2 separate regions of the Homo sapiens genome follow, and region 1 is linked to region 2. The links are contacts of gene promoters, found by promoter capture Hi-C in blood cells and fetal thymus (Javierre and others, 2016). All regions are on one chromosome and are shown on one strand. Each heading gives the region's core, a stretch centred on a gene start or on the middle of the fragment in contact. The rest is flanking DNA. Distances are from core to core; before and after follow the strand shown. Region 1 overlaps TMEM192 (transmembrane protein 192). Region 2 holds the start of DDX60 (DExD/H-box helicase 60).

Evidence for each region. The method cuts DNA at HindIII sites, captures the fragments that hold promoters and counts their contacts. A CHiCAGO score of 5 or more calls a contact.
Region 1: a contact is called between a fragment that was not itself captured here and the fragment with the promoter of DDX60 in region 2, in 1 of 17 cell types (naive CD8 T cells). The highest score is 6.6, in naive CD8 T cells.

The regions. Positions count from the first base shown.
Region 1 is chr4:165,100,316-165,105,159 of GRCh38, forward strand. It overlaps TMEM192 (transmembrane protein 192), which reads right to left. Exons shown (of 6, transcript NM_001100389.2): 2 at 2,635-2,781; 3 at 313-577. Among named protein-coding and RNA genes, the nearest start is that of TMEM192, 10 kb to the right of the region's middle. The HindIII fragment of the contact is 5,860 bases long and covers 149-4,844 here.
Region 2 is chr4:168,316,115-168,321,147 of GRCh38, forward strand. It overlaps DDX60 (DExD/H-box helicase 60), which reads right to left and starts at 2,638. Exons shown (of 38, transcript NM_017631.6): 1 at 2,508-2,638. RefSeq lists an enhancer at 2,572-2,901. The HindIII fragment of the contact is 2,588 bases long and covers 2,127-4,714 here.

The DNA of each region.
Region 1 (4,844 bases), core at 1,829-4,328, 3.2 Mb before region 2:
CGCCCAGCTAATTTTTGTATTTTTAGTAGAGACGGGGTTTCACCATGTTGGCCAGGATGGTCTCGATCTCCTGACCTCGTGATCTGCCCACCTCAGCATTCCAAAGTGCTGGGATTATAGGCGTGAGCCACCGCACCCGGCCAAGAAAAGCTTTAAGACATTAAGGTGATCCAAATTTTAGTGGTCAGAACACACATCAACCTTACAAAAATGAGAGAATATATTTGATTCTAAAATCAAACTTCATATATTCTTTCTGCTGTCATTTTTGTCCCTCAAGCACCCAAGTAGCTGAGAGAAAATTGGACATACCAGAGGACTGTATCATCAACGCAAGTCTCTTGAGATGCCTTGTTGATCGGTAGATCAAGTTATAGCCTCGGTTTCTGATTTTGCTGTGGTGATACTGGATGTAGCATTCAAGGAGTAAATGGAGAATCCACAAAATAACTTTCCCAAGGATTATAACCGTCTGAACTTTCAATGGGTTTGTGTAATTTCCTGGGCACTTGTCCTCATTTGGATTAGGATAAGAACAAAGCACACCTGTTAAAAATGCTAAAACAACAAACACGAGCTGGGGGAAAGGAGAGCAGAAAGATTAATATTCAATATTTGTAATTAGGAAGCAATAACTACCATCCCAGCATACATTCTTTTTTTTTTTTTTTTTTTTTCTGAGACAGAGTCTCACTCTGTCGCCCAGGCTGGAGTGCAGTGGCGCAATCTCGGCTTACTGCAAGCTCCACCTCCCGGGTTCACGCCATTCTCCTGCCTCAGCCTCCCGAGTAGCTGGGACTACAGGCACCCGCCACCACGCCTGGCTAACTTTTTGCATTTTTAGTAGAGACGGGGTTTCACCATGTTAGCCAGGATGATATCGATCTCCTGACCTCATGATCCACCCACCTCAGCCTCCCAAAGTGCTGGAATTACAGGTGTGAGCCACCGCACCCGGCTTCCCAGCATACATTCTTATACCTACAGCTTCCCCTGTCCTATTTTTATAAATGAGTTTTTAAATGTATTTTCGTTTTGTTTTGTTTAAATGTATTTTTGTTTTCTGTGTGAGATACGGTCTTGCCCTGTTGCCCAGGCTGGAGTGCAGTGGTGCCATCTCTGCTCACTGCAGCCTCAACCTCCTGGGCTCAAGCGATCCTCCTACCTCAGTCTCTGGAGTAGCTGGAACTACAGGCCTGTGCCACCATGCCTGGCCAATTTTAAGAAGTTTTTATAGAGACAGGTTCTTGCTATGGCACCCAGGCTGGTACAGAGTATGTTACACAAAAAGTAAAAGGAAAGAAGAAAAAGAGGTCACCATCTGGAAACCACAAGGCCACCCCTGCACATGGTGGTACCAAGAAGAAAGCGCTTCAGCTGGGATCTGGGGATCAGGAAGCCATGGTGGAGCCATACCACAGCTACTAGTTCCCTCAAGGAAAGGGGATACCACCTCTCTCCCCAGTGATTCAGTTCTGAACTCAAGTCTCCCACAGTGCACTTCACTGGAGAGGAATCCCAGCTGCAGGGGAAGCCAGGAAATGTGCTGAGGGATACGGTCCCTGCAGACAGGCAAACCTATCAGTAGGAGGCTGAGCAGAGGCTGAGCAAGTCAATCAACTCCATTCACAGTCCTCGTAAATACTCAAGGAGTGGTGAGAATGAGCCCTCTTGATTTTTCACATTGCAGCAGAGAACAACTATAACCCCTAGTGCTTCCAACTGCAATCGTCGAAAGGGAGGAACTGATTAAACAGACTGGCAGTGGAGTCACCACCAGTGAGGCCTGCGATAAGACCTTTTGCACATGTGTTTTTATAAACTCCAGATAGTTGTAATTTTGTCATCATACAAAAATTGTACATATTATTCCACTGCAACTTGATTTGTCTGCTAAACATTATTCCCTAGGTATAAGTAAATTGATAAATTCCTGTGTCAACATATGTAGACTTTTCTGCATCTTTTTTGTAACTGAAAAAGTAATACAAGCACATGGTTAAAAAATCAAGTAGTATTCAAAAGTAAACAGTAAATTATATTAGTGTCTCTTCCACCAAGACCCTCAGTCCTCATTTCAGAGGCAACTAGGTCTGTGAATGCTTCTAGAAATATTCTATTATATACAGGAAAACAGGTCCACAACAGCCCTCTCAACTCCCTTTTAAAAACTGCAGATAGGAACATTCTGTACACAAGGTTGAAAACTTGATTTTTTTTCACTCGACAATGTAATCATGAAGGCTATTCTATGTTAATATACTGTATACCTATCCACCCCATTCTTAACAGTTGCATAGCATTTCCTTATATGAATGGGACACACAGTGTCTTCTGGATGCCAAGTAGCCAGGTAGTTTGTAGTCTCTTGATATGACAGACAACATGGCTATTATCAACAATATCTTTACATGTGTGCAAATATATCCACAATGAATTATTTGAAGATATAAGTAAAAGTGTACGTACTTTTTTTTTTTTTTTTTTGCCCATGACACAGCACTCAGGATGTCCTAAGAACATGTGCCCTACATTTTAAATGTTGATAGATACAGCACAACTGCCCTCTGAAACACTTATATAATTTTTACAAACATCACCTCTGGATAGGTCCCCTTCTTGCAGCCAACTTACATGAATAAACCACAGAAGATTCACTATGATGACTGTAGGAAGAGGATGGAATCGGGGTCTAAAGTGAGCTTGTAATGAGTGGTGTGGGAGAAGCTGGGCATCCAGAAGTGGGTCGTCTTCAATACTCTGGGTGATATCCAAGGAACCCTGGGGTGCAGAAAAACAAGCAACCTATAATCACCACTTTCTAGATTATGTTTCTAAGACAAATCTACTAAACTACAGAGCTTTTTAACCACATACAAATTAAAGGCAAGAGAACACATTGCCTACCTGAATCCAATTTTTTAAAAATTAATTATTAATTTAATTTAATTAATTAAAAAATTAATTAATTTTTTAAAAACTGTAGCAACACGGTCTCACTATGTTGCCCAGGCTGGTCTTGTTTGTTTGTGTTTTGTTTTTTGTTTTTGAGACAGTCTCGCTCTGTTGCCCAGGCTGGAGTGCAGCGGCGCAATCTTGGCTCACTGCAACCTCTGCCTCCCAGGTTCGAGCAATTCTCCTGCCTCAGCCTCCTGAGTAGCTGGGACTACAGGTGTGCACCACCACACCCAGCTAATTTTTTTTTTTTTTTTTTTTGAGATAGAGTTTCACTCTTGTTGCCCAGGCTGGAGTGCACTGGCACAACCTTGGCTCGCCGAAACCTCCACCTCCCGGGTTCCAGCAATTCTCCTGCCTCAGCCTCCTGGGGTAGCTGGGATTACAGGCATGCACCACCACACCCGGCTAATTTTTTATTTTTAATTTTTAGTAGAGATGGGGTTTCTCTATGTTGGTCAGGCTGGTCGCGAACTCCTGACCTCAGGTGATCCGCCTGCCTCGGCCTCCCAAAGTGCTGGGATTACAGGCATGAGCCACCGTGCCCGGCACACATCCAGCTAATTTTTGTATTTTCAGTAGAGGGAGGGTTTCACTGTGTTGGCCATGCTGGTCTCAAACTCCTGACCTCAGGTGATCTACCCACCTCGGCCTCCCAAAGTGGTGGGATTACAGGCATTAGCCACAGTGCCCGGCCCCAGGCTAGTCTTGAACTCTTGGCCGCAAGCTGCAATTCCAGCTACTCGGGAGGCTGAGGCAGGAGAATCACTTGGACCCAGGAGGTGGAGGTTGCAGTGAGCCGAGATTGCGCCACTGCACTCCAGCCTGGGCGACAGAGAGACTTCGTCTCAAAAATATGGATATATACTGCATTGTATATACTTTTAATTTGCTAAGAGTGTAGATCTTAAGTGTTCTCATCACATGTTAAAAAAAAGAAAAAAAGAATATGGTTCATGGGAAGCACATAACAAATCAGCAAATGAAAAGCATAGAAGACAATGCCAAAAAATTTAGGTCAGCTAACTGCACTACAATGAGACAGAAATGAAGGATTCATGAATAGGTTTTGGCTACACAGAATGAGAGCTCTTTATTTTGGAAGTAGGTAGTAGGACAAATGATGTAAGAGATGGCTGTTGATTGCTAAGATTACAAAGATAAGGACAGTAATCTAGGGTGTAACCTAGCTCTGGAGTGGGCTCCTCAATTTCCAGTAGCAGGTATTCAACACTGCTCTGCAACTGTTTTTGTTGTTTTGTTTGTTTGTTTGTTTTTGAGATGGAATCTCGCTCTGTCGCCGAGGCTGGAGTGCAGTGGCTCAATCTCGGCTCATTGCAACTTCTGCCCCCTGGGTTCAATCGATTCTCCTGTCTCAGCCTCCTGAGTAGCTAGGATTAAAGGCACGCGCCACTATGCCCGGCTAATTTTTGTATTTTTAGTAGAGATGGGGTTTCGCCATGTTAGCCAAACTGGTCTCAAACTCCCAACCCCAGGTGATCCGCCTGCCTCAGCCTCCCAAAGTGCTGGGATTACAGGCATGAGCCACCGCGCCTGGCCAAGTCTTTTATTCAATGCCTAGATTGCTTCCTGTTTAGTTTACCATAACTCATGGTACAATTCAGATTACTCCTGTTCTCTTCAAGACCCCTCTGCCTCTAGCTCATTCTCAGTCAGCAGATGTTGGAGCCTTGAGATCTGCTCTTCCCTTAGCTAATGTCTGTGCATTCTTTCATGCTCAGAAGGGGCAATTCCCACCACAGGGCCTTTCTGGATACCCCTAATCTGGATTGTGCCACCCTCCATGTTTTTCAAAGCATTCTGTGCTTGCCTCTTCTATCAAACTATCCTGTGATGGTCTCTTACTTATCTCTTCTCCACTAGACGTC
Region 2 (5,033 bases), core at 1,388-3,887:
CTTTGTGTGATTTAGAAAAGTTAAAGGAAGCTATAAAGAAAAACAAGAGAACCCATGGTACTTCGAATTTACAAAAGTCTATTTCAAACAGTAATTTTAACAACATAGAACTACATGTCTTAGCCTAGCAATTCCTAGATTGCTTCTACACTGAGTAATGTGTACATACTCATAATTTTGTCACTGCTGTTTACTTCTTTTTTACTGTTGACTCAACATACAAACAAATCACAAGAATCAAAGTCACAAACTGCTGTAAAATATGATAAACCTTGACAGTATGAAAATAATAATATAATTAACCAACTTGGCAGTTCACAAAGGGATGAATGAAAGAAAAATAAATATGAATGCTAAATTCTTCATCTTTCACAGCAGGATGTCCAGCAATAGCATCTGAAGACAATATATGAAAAAAAATAATGGTTTATGGAATCAAGAAATTATCCTGCTTTTCTTCTAAGTACTGCACCATCGCATTACCAAAGAGTAGATACAAGAGTGATTCATTTCTAGAAATAATGCAGCTAATAAACACAGAAGGAATGATAGAATTAGAATATCACCATTTTACAACTCCTAATGAATTAACAGATCTTGGTATTTTTAAACGATAGCACAACAAAAATAGAGGCAAGTGTCCACACCATCAGTGAAGTATTGTAGTTCTCCCAGCCAAAAAAAAAAGAAACCCAAAACTTGGGAGGCCAAGGCGGGCAGATCACCTGAGGTCGGGAGTTCGAGACCAGACTGGCCAACATGGTGAAACCCCATCTCTACTAAAAATGCAAACATTAGCTGGGCATGGTGACAGTCACCTGTAATCCCAGCTACTTGGGAGGCTGAGGTAGAAGAATCGCTTGAACCTGGGAGGCAGAGGTTGCAGTGAACTGAGATCAAGCCACTGCATTCCAGCCTGGGCAAAAGAGCAAGACTCCGTCTCAAAAAAAAAAAAAAAAAAAGAAGAAGAAGAAAAAAAAGAAAACCTGAATCTGATCAAAACGCTAGTAGTAATGATTAATTTACAAGAAATTTAGAGGCCAGCAAAATATGTTAAATGACACCACAGGGATTAGGACACATACACACACACACACATAAACACACACCCAACAGGACACACACATACAAAAACAAACAATCATAAGACCACAAATCTTACAAACGAATAAATTAAAAGGGGATGAAAGAAATTGCAAGAACCTTATAAGGCTTATCCTCCAATCACAGTAGTGTCAGAACCATATTCTGATTCAAACAATCTTAAAAAGGAAGAAGAAAAGAAGAAGGGAGGAAGAGAAATGGAAAAGAGAAAAAAGGAGGGAAGAGGAAAGGCGCAAAGGGGAGGTAAAGAGGAAAAAAATGGGGGCAAGGGAAGGGAAAGGAAATCATGGATTCTGTATTGGAACAGAATGGTGGAGCTACTTGATGAAAGGCATCAAGCTCCTGAAACCCTGCCTGGAGAAGAGCTGGTGGGTTAAAATGGCTTCCAGTACCCGGTATAACCCTCTCCCCTTGAGTGTGGACAGGACCTGTGAATTTAATGGCATAGTCTCTTTAATGATTCGGTTATATTATGTAAGACTTCATCATAGTAGACTCGGGAGATTCCCCCAAAGAGGCTTATACCTTCTTTAAAGGTACCCTATACCTTCTTTAACGGTATAAGCCACCTTGTTGTGAGAAGGCCACTGTAGCTAAGATCTCAGGGTGAAATCTAAAGACATGGGAACCCCCAGCCAACAGCCAGCAAGAAAGCAGGTAACCTCAGTCCTTTAGCTGCAAGAAACTGAATTCTTCCAACAACCTGAATGAGCATCCATGGTGTCCCATGAGGCCACAGCTCTGACACCTTGATTTCAGCTCGATGAGATGCTGAACAGAGAACTCACTTTACCCATGCCTGGGCTTCTGATCCACAGCAATTGTAAAATAATAAACTTGTAATGTTTTAAGCCACTATACCTGCCCCTTGACCAGGAATAAATTAAGTTACTGGAGTAGGAAATAAATTTCTATTGTCTTAAGCCACTGAAATTTAAGGGTGCACAGAAATTACCTGGGGGAATCTTATTAATAAACGCAGATTCTGATTCTACAAGTCTGGAGCAGGGATTGAAGGTGGAAGCTTCTTGCTGCTGTCAATGTACAGGTTTTACTGGCTGTGCTTAGATATGATGTCCCTTAATTTCTCCTCAACCTCCATTACCCAGCTCCCACCTTTGACGGGGACTCCTTAAATGCCTAACTAAGCACTCCTCTCTGTCTCAGACTTCAGGCCTTTCGCGGTTGTCCCTTTCCTCCGCCCCTCCCCACGCCCGGCCTTCCGGGCCAGCAGGGGGCCCGTGCGCCACGGCCTTGCGATCCCAGGAGGTTCCCCAGATTCCCGCGCCCCGAGCCCAGCACTCCTGGGCCACCTCCCTGTCCGGTCCGTTGAAGAAGACCTAGAACTCCCGCTAGACAGCTCCGCCCCAGGCTCTTCCCAAGGGACATCCCCGGCTCCTCACCGCGGACTCAGGACCGGTGGTGTCCAAAGACCCGCGAGCTGCGCGCCCCGCGGGGAGGGAGTGAAACAGAGACCTAGCGCAGAGCCCAGGTGGAAGTTCCAGGTTACCCCAGACCTGGCCTAGGACTCGGCGCTCTGAGCCACCGCAGCCAGTCTTTTATGCATCCGGCGGGAGTTTCGGTTTCCTTTCTCCTCTCAGAAGCACTTAGGTTTCAGTTTCCCTTCAGCACGAATTAGGCGAGGCACTTTCGTGGAAAGTTTAGCATCCTTCCCTTCAATCAGAATCTTAAGAAGGGGAGCATGGCGAGACGTTAGTTAAAAGGTATGAAGTTACAATAGCTAGGAAGAACCAGTTCTGGTATTCTATTCTGCAGTAGGGTGTGTATAGTTAACAATAATGCATATTTCAAAATAGCTAGAAGAGAGAATTTTGAATATTCTCATCACAAAGAAATAGTAAAGTTTTGAGGTAATAGATGGGCTAATTATCCTGATTTGATCATCACACAATGTATACATGTATTGAAACGTCACATTGTACCCCAAAAATATATACAATTATTATGCGTCAATTAAAAATAAAATGAAACTAAAAAAAACCTTAAAAGAGAGAGACAAAGGCAATAAAAATGGGCTTTGGAATTTGGGCATAAATATAGAGTAAATTGAGGCAGAAAAATTTGTAACATCTAAACAAGATAAAATCAAGAAGAGTTAGAATTTAGAAATTGATAAAATGTAAAAGACACTGTGGAATCTGAAACCCCACAATGAAATTGGAGATCTTGCTGCTTCTACTTGTATGCAAAAAGAAAAAAGAAAGTATGTAACAATACATGAACTTTGAGTTTCTGTTATGAGAAGCTGATGATTACTGTTCTGTATAAACTGTAATTGGTACTTTCATGGGCCAAGAATCAACATTAAAAAATAAATTGAAAATGCAGAATGGTCACATTTATTTGTGCCTCAAATTGATGAAATGTTCTCTTAATTTTTGCCTGTTGATACTTGCAGTGTGGGTTTCGATACTCATCTCCTTTCCTTTCAGTGCCCTCGTATGCTTGATTTCATTAATGCTATAAATATGCATTCATATATTGGAAATAGAAGAGGGTGTGGAGGAAAGACAGCAGTGAATTTGGGTAATCAGCATGATAAGAAGCCACAGGCTGCTTTGTCTACAAGGAAAGGAAAGAGCCAAGGTCCAGGCACTGCTCCACAGGGAACACAGAACAGAGAGAGTAGTGAATGATACTTTGTCTTGTGAAAAATTAGAGAGTCAAGTTGTTAAAAGAGGGGGATATGGGGAAGGAGGACATTTCTCACATCCATCAGACAATTACTTGTTTATTCATTTGTTTAGAAATTCACGTGTTTGTTAGTGATGAGATTAAGAAAGAAAATAAAAGACTCTAGAATTTAACACATGATTGGTCTTAAATCAGCCAATATTCCTGTCTCCTTCACTGTGATCTCTGATGTACCTGCCTGGGGTAGGCTGAATAATACCCTGCACTCCTCCCTCCAAAAGAGGCCAAAATCCTAATTCCTGGAACCTATGAATACAGTAACTTTCATAGCAAAAGTAACTTTGCAAAATAGATTAAATAAGAATCTTTAGAAGAGGAGATTACCCCTTACCCGGGATTATCCAGGTGGGCCCAAGGTCATCAGAAGGGCCTTTATAAGAGGGAGACAGGAGTTCGAGGGGCAATGTGATGATAGAAACAGTCAGTGACAGAATGTGGGGACACTACACAGATGGCGTTGAAGACAGTGGAAGGGACCACGGGCCAAGGAGTCTGGTGGTCTCTAGAAACTACCAAAGGCAAGGAAACATTTTTTTTTTCTAGAGCCTCCAGAAATCAGCCCTGATAACACCTTGACTTCAGCCCAGAGAGACTGATTTTGAACCTCTGAGCTCAGAACTGTAAGAGAACAAACTTGTGTGGTATTAAGCCACTAAATTTGTGGTAATTTGTTACAGCAGCCATAGAGAACTAATACAATATTGCAAACTGTATTGTAGGAAATGAATAACATATTTGCAAACAGCAGAAATAATGGATTGTGTTATAACAAGAGGTAGAATTAATTCAGACAGCTACTATGTGCTAAGCAATATGCTAATACCATATCAATGATCACAGCAAGTTCATGAGGTGTGTACTATGATTTCTGTCATTCTGTAGATAAGAAAAATAAAGCTTCGAGGGATAAAACAGCTAATAAATTATACTAAGATTCAAAATGTGGTCTAACCCAATGGCCTATCTACAACATTCTCTATTACATAATTTCATCAAATGCTTCAAATTCTACAACTGAAAGTGTTTCAGCTAGTGGACAAATGATTTTTTTTTGCTTAAATTATAAAGTTTTTTAGAATATATGATGTTCTACAGTTGTTTCGACTTTCAGTGACCGGATTTATCAGGTGAGAGTTCAAGACAACTTTGACTCATCCTCTTCAATTTTCCACCCCAAAGTATGTAAACACACAGAAACTTTTTATTTTTTTTTT